Linked DNA regions of Homo sapiens: region 2 is linked to region 1. Evidence: promoter capture Hi-C in human tissues and cell types (Jung and others, 2019). All regions are on one chromosome and are shown on one strand. Each heading gives the region's core, a stretch centred on a gene start or on the middle of the fragment in contact. The rest is flanking DNA. Distances are from core to core; before and after follow the strand shown.

Region 1 (3,283 bases), core at 391-2,890:
AGCGCAGCGGCTCCTGTCTGTAATCCTAGCACTTTGGGAGGCCGAGGCCCAGGCAGGCAAATTGCCTGAGCTCAGAAGTTTGAGACCAGCCTGGCCAACATGCAGAAACTCCGTCTCTACTAAAAATACATAAATTAACCGGGCATGGTAACACGTGCCTGTAGTCCCAGCTACTCGGGAGGCTGAGGCAGGAGAATCACTTGAGCCTGGGAGGCAGAGGTTGCAGTGAGCCAAGATCGCGCCACTGCATTCCAGCCTGGGCAACAGAGTGAGACTTGGTCAAAAAAAAAAAAAAAAAAGGAAGAAGAAGAAGAAATCAGGTTTAGAGATGAGGACAAAGAAGACGAATGGTGGCATGAAGGAGCTAAGAGCTACTTGTCACCATGACATGAAGCTTCATGCCAGCAAATTAAAGGAGCTATTCAGAACTAGTATCCTCAACTCTACTTGCTCAGGGGCACTGACCTTATAGAGATTCCAGACATAAGCTTGTTCAGCCTTAAAGTCCAATCTTTCCACTGGCTTGGGTCCTTCCCACTTTCTGTGGCCAACTCTGAGGTTGTCTACAAGTTATTGGTCTTAGATTTATGTAATGTCTCAATGCCAGTGTAGTATTTGGTTATTTACGGTAGGAGTGGTTAGGGGTGGGGAATCTGATAATAGCTCGTAGGATAGCTAGATTCTTTTTTTTTTTTTTTTTTTTTAAAGATAGGGTCTCACTTTGTCTCCCAGGATGGATGGAGTGCAGTGGAGTGAACATGGCTCACTGCAGCCTCGACCTCCTGTGCTCAAGTGTTCCTCCTGCCTCAGCCCCTCAAGTAGCTGGGACTACAGGCACATGTCACCATGCCCAGCTAATTTTTTTTGTAGAGATGGGATTTTACCATGTTGCCCAGGCTGGTCTCGAGCTCCTGGGCTCAAGTGATCCACCAGACTCGGCCTCCCAAAATGCCGGGATTACAGGTGTGAGCCACTGTGCCTGGCCTAGATGCTTTCATACAGGCTTTTCAATTATGCATTTTCCTTAAGTAGGAAGTCTTAAGATCCAAGTTATATCGGATTGTTGTAGTCTACGTTCCCATATTCTATTCCTATTTCTGAGCCTTCAGTCATGAGCTACCATATTAAAGAACTAATTCTGGGCCTTGTTACATGGCTGGATTGGTTGGACAAGTGCCAGCTCTGATCCTGGGACTGTGGCATGTGATGACATACACCCCCTCTCCACATTCTGCATGTCTCTAGGGGGGAAGGGGGAAGCTCGGTATAGAACTTTATTGTATTTTCTGATTGCCTCACTTCTTATATTGCCCCCATGCCCTTCTTTGTTCCTCAAGTAACCAGAGACAGTGCTTCCCAGAACCAACCCTACAAGAAACAAAGGGCTAAACAAAGCCAAATGGGAAGCAGGATCATGGTTTGAACTCTTTCTGGCCAGAGAACAATACCTGCTATGGACTAGATACTGGGAGAGGGAAAGGAAAAGTAGGGTGAATTATGGAAGGAAGCTGGCAGGCTCAGCGTTTCTGTCTTGGCATGACCAGTCTCTCTTCATTCTCTTCCTAGATGTAGGGCTTGGTACCAGAGCCCCTGAGGCTTTCTGCATGAATATAAATAAATGAAACTGAGTGATGCTTCCATTTCAGGTTCTTGGGGGTAGCCAAAATGAGGTTCTTTGTCCCTCTGTTCCTGGTGGGCATCCTGTTCCCTGCCATCCTGGCCAAGCAATTCACAAAATGTGAGCTGTCCCAGCTGCTGAAAGACATAGATGGTTATGGAGGCATCGCTTTGCCTGAATGTGAGTTCCCTGCCTCTGTGTTTCATCCATTCCTCATACGCTTCTCTCCTCCATCCCCTCTTTCTTCCACTTCGCCCCTCCACTTTTACTTAATTATCTAATCATCCTCTTTTCTGCTCATTTGCATACTCTTTTATTTCATGTATGTATATATGTATGTATTTATTTATTTTTGAGGTGGAGTTTCGCTCTTGTTGCCCAGACTGGAGTGCAATGGTGTAATCTCGGCTCACTGCAACCTCCGCCTCCTCGGTTCAAGTGATTCTCCTGCCTCAGCCTCCCAAGTAGCTGGAATTACAGGCACCCACCACCATGCCTGGCTAATTTTGTATTTTTTGTAGAGACAGGGTTTCACCATGTTGGCCAGGCTGGTCTCAAACTTCTGACCTCAGGTGATCCGCCCTCCTCAGCCTCCCAAAGTGTTGGGATTACAAGCGTGAGCCATCATGCCTGGCCCCATTTATTTTCCTATCCTTTCTTTCTCTTATTGTCTGATTTTTTTTTGGAATTCTCCATCTCATCAAGAAACTCTGAGCTTTGCCATCTTTGGAGATTGGCTGGAAAGCATTTTTGTCTGAGAATTACAGTTCCTCCTTTATGCAGATCCTGTACATCTCTGTGGTATCTCTTTCTCATCTTTCCCTCAGTGATCTGTACCATGTTTCACACCAGTGGTTATGACACACAAGCCATAGTTGAAAACAATGAAAGCACGGAATATGGACTCTTCCAGATCAGTAATAAGCTTTGGTGCAAGAGCAGCCAGGTCCCTCAGTCAAGGAACATCTGTGACATCTCCTGTGACAGTGAGTAGCCCCTATAACCCTCTTTCTCTGTTTTTCTGAGGCCTGCCCTTGGGATAATCTCCTTTTTAGTGCCAAGCAGACCTCAGGCTTCATTGCCTTGGCTGGGCTCTATAAAAATTGTGGGACTTGAATTGGCAGTACTGAGTAAGAAGCTGTTTGGATTTTTCATGGTCATCAAATCCCCAGACAGTTCCTTGAGGTTCAGTGGTAGACAATCGGAGCTGTCTGAGAGTCTTGGAATCTGATTGTCTGCATTTTCAGGGTAAGTCAGTTGATGAAGCTGATGATTCCTCCAGAGATATCCCAGGGAAATGAAGGAAGTCCCTACCCAGGGTTAGACATTACCACATTGGTCCTTTCATATAGAAAGACAACAGGCACAAGCCTTGAGTTTAGAGAACCCACTGGATCCAGGGGTTAGGGGAACTCAGTGCCTTTCTGGGTAATACTTGTCAGCTGTCTCAATCCTTTCCCTGTAACTCCTGCCAGAGTTCCTGGATGATGACATTACTGATGACATAATGTGTGCCAAGAAGATCCTGGATATTAAAGGAATTGACTACTGGTGAATCCTTATTCTATTTTCTATTTCCCCATCCTCCTTCTCCTTACCCCATTAGCCCAGCACCCCTTTCCTCTTACCCTATCTCTTGGTCATTTAATCTAGAATACAGTGTCT
Region 2 (3,196 bases), core at 303-2,802, 45 kb before region 1:
AAGCAAGATGGACTCAGAGTAAATAGAACAGAGAAAATAACAAAGAATGGAAATCAATGAATATAAAGGAGAAAAACCAATAAAACAAAAATTAGTTTTTAAAAATTTGAAACAGGGTATTGTTCTGTCATTCAGGCTGGAGTGCAGTGATATGATCATGGCTCACTGCAGCCTCAACCTCTTGGGCTCAGGTGATCCTCCCATCTCAGCCTCCCAGGTAGCTGGAACTACAGGTATACACCACCATGCCTGGCTAATGTTTTAGATTTTTTGTAGAGTCAGGGTTTCACCATGTTGCCCAGGCTGGTCTTGGACTCCTAGGCTCAAGTGGTCTGGCCTTCCAAATTGCTGGGATTACAGGCAAAAAATTAGCTCTTTGAAAAAAATCAATAAAATTGATAAATTATCAGCTAAATTGACTTAAACCCAGACAAACACAAATTATCAATATCAATAAACAAAAGAAGAGGTATCACTACAAACCCTACAGATATTAAAAGAATTAAAAGGCAGTATTATGAACAACCTTATGCCAATACATTTGACAATTTAAATAAAATTTTTAAATTACTTGAAAGATGCTAATGACCAGAATGACATAAGAATTAATACAAATCTGAATAATCTTATATCTATAAAAGAAATTAAACTCATAATTGCTGTAGTTTGGTAGACTCAGCCATTCCAGTCTGCTGGTTTTGGAGAATATAAAGTCTGGATGAGGAAAAGTCCCTCACAAAGCAACACAGCCACCTTGCCAGACTGTGGTCAGACTGCTTCTTTAAGCGGGACCCCAGTTCATTCTTCCTCACTGGGTGCAACCTCTCTGTGGGAGCTTCAGCCACTCCAGCTAGGGTTCTACAGAAAAAGCTCTGATCTCTCCCTGGGATAGAGCCCCTGGGGGAGGTGCAGCTGCTGTCTTTGTGGTTTGGTTGACTCAGTCTTTTCCAGCCTATCGGCTTTGGAGAATACAAACAGTCTGGACAAGGAAGGGCTCCCCCCAGTGCAGCACACCTGCTCTATCAAAAAGCAGTCAGATTGCTTATTTATTTATTTATTTTTGAGACGGAGTCTCACTCTGTCCCCCAGGCTGGAGTGCAGTGGCATGATCTCGGCTCATTGCATGCTCCACCTCCCAGGTTCATGCCATTCTCCTGCCTCAGCCTCCCGAGTAGCTGGGACTACAGGCACCTGCCACCACACCTGGCTAATTTTTTTTTTTTGTTTTTTTTTAGTGGAGATGGGGTTTCACCATGTTAGCCAGGATGGTCTCGATCTCCTGACCTCGTGATCCACCTGCCTCGGCCTCCCAGGGTGTTGGATTACAGGCATGAGCCCACTGTGCCCGGCACAGATTGCTTATTTAAGTGGGTCCCTGATCCCATTCCTCCTGACTGGGTGAGACCTCCCAACAGGGGTCTCCAGACACCTCCTACCAGTGTGTTTGGGCCAGCAACAGGTCAGTACCCACCTGGGACAAAGTTTCCAGAGGAAGGAGCTGGCAGCCATCTTTGCTGTTTTGCAGCCTTCACTGGTGATACCTCCAAGTACTGGAAAAAACAAGGCAACTAGGGTCTGAAGTGGACCCCCAGCAAACCACAGAAGCCCTACAGTAGTGTAGCTTGACTGTTAAGAGAAAAACAAACAAGCAAACAAACAAACAGAAAACAACAGCAACAACATCAACAAAAAAGACCCCACAAGAAGTCTGTTCAAAGGTTAGCAACCTCAAAGATTCAAGGTTGATAAGCCCACAAAGATGAGGAAGAATCAATGCAAAGAAGCTGAAAACTCAAAAAGCCAGAGGGCCTTTTTTCCTCCAAATGACCACAACACTTTTCCAGCAAGGACACAAAACTGGGCTCAGGCTGAGATGGCTGAATTGACAGAAGTAGGCTTCAGATGATGGGTAATAATGAACCTCACTGAACTAAAAGAGCATGTTCTAACCCAATGCAAAGAAGCTAAGAATCATGATAAAACAATATAGGAGGCTGGGTGCAGTGGTTCATGCCTATAATCCCAGGACTTTGGAGGCTGAGGCAGGCAGATCATGAGGTCAGGAGTTTGAGACCAGACTGGCCAACATGATGAAAACTGTCTGTACCAAAAATACAAAAAAATTAGCTGGGCACAGTGGTGCTTGCCTGTAATCCCAGCTAATTGGGAGGCTGAGGCAGGAGAACCAGTGAACTCAGGAGGCAGTGGTTGCAGTGTGCTGAGATCAGGCCACTGCACTCCAGCCTGGGTGACAGAGCAAATCTCCACCTCTACAAAATACAAAATGAAACAATACAGGAGCTAATAGCCAGAATAGCCAGTTTAGAGCGGAACAAAACAGACCTGATGGAGCTGAAAACACAACATGAGAACATCACAATGTGTCACAAGTATCAGTAGCAGAATAGACCAAGTGGAGGAAAGAATCTCAGAGCTTCAAGACTATCTTGCTGAAATAAGACAGGCAGACAAGAATAGTAATAATCTCGGAGCTTGAAGACAATCTTTCTGAATAAGACAGGCAAAAAAGAATGAAAAGGAATGAACAAAACCTCAGAGAAATATGAGACTGTTTAAAAAGACCTAACCTATGACTGATTGGGGTACCTGAAAGAGATGGGGCAAATGGAGCCAAGTTGGAAAACATACTACAGAATATCATCCAGGAGAACTTCTGCAACCTAGCAAGACAGACCAACATTCAAATTCAGGAAATGCAGAAAACTCCAGTAAGATACTCCACGAGAAGATCAACCCCAAGACACATAATCCTCAGAGTCTCCAAGGTCTACATGAAAGAAAAAAATGTTAAGGGCAGCCAGAAAGAAAGGCTAGGTCACTTACAAAGGAAAACCCATCAGACTAACAGCAAACCTCTCAGTGGAAACCATACAAGCCAGAAGAGATTGAGGGCCAATATTCAACATTCTTAAAGAAAAGAATTTCCAACCTGGAATTTTATATCTAGCCAAGCTAAGCTTCATATGCAAAGGAGAACTAAGACCCTTTTCAGAGAAGCAAATGCTTAGGGAATTTATCACCACCAGGCCTGCCTTGCAAGAGCTCCTGAAGGAAGCACTAAATATGGAAAAGAAAACCACTACCAGCCACTATAAAAATACAGTGAAGTACACAGACCAGTGACAATATGAAGCAACCACATAAACAAGGTCTGCAAAATAACCAGCTAGCATCA

Evidence for each region. Contacts are between HindIII fragments. The study calls those that stand out against the background at their distance.
Region 2: a contact is called between a fragment that was not itself captured here and the fragment with the promoter of LALBA in region 1, in 2 of the 25 tissues and cell types used here (H1 embryonic stem cells and stomach).

The regions. Positions count from the first base shown.
Region 1 is chr12:48,568,403-48,571,685 of GRCh38, reverse strand. LALBA (lactalbumin alpha) reads left to right here and starts at 1,640. Exons shown (of 4, transcript NM_002289.3): 1 at 1,640-1,798; 2 at 2,446-2,604; 3 at 3,094-3,169. The coding sequence starts at 1,666. The HindIII fragment of the contact is 2,890 bases long and covers 29-2,918 here.
Region 2 is chr12:48,613,618-48,616,813 of GRCh38, reverse strand. No RefSeq gene overlaps it. Among named protein-coding and RNA genes, the nearest start is that of SNORA2C, 39 kb to the left of the region's middle. The HindIII fragment of the contact is 5,812 bases long and covers 1-3,196 here.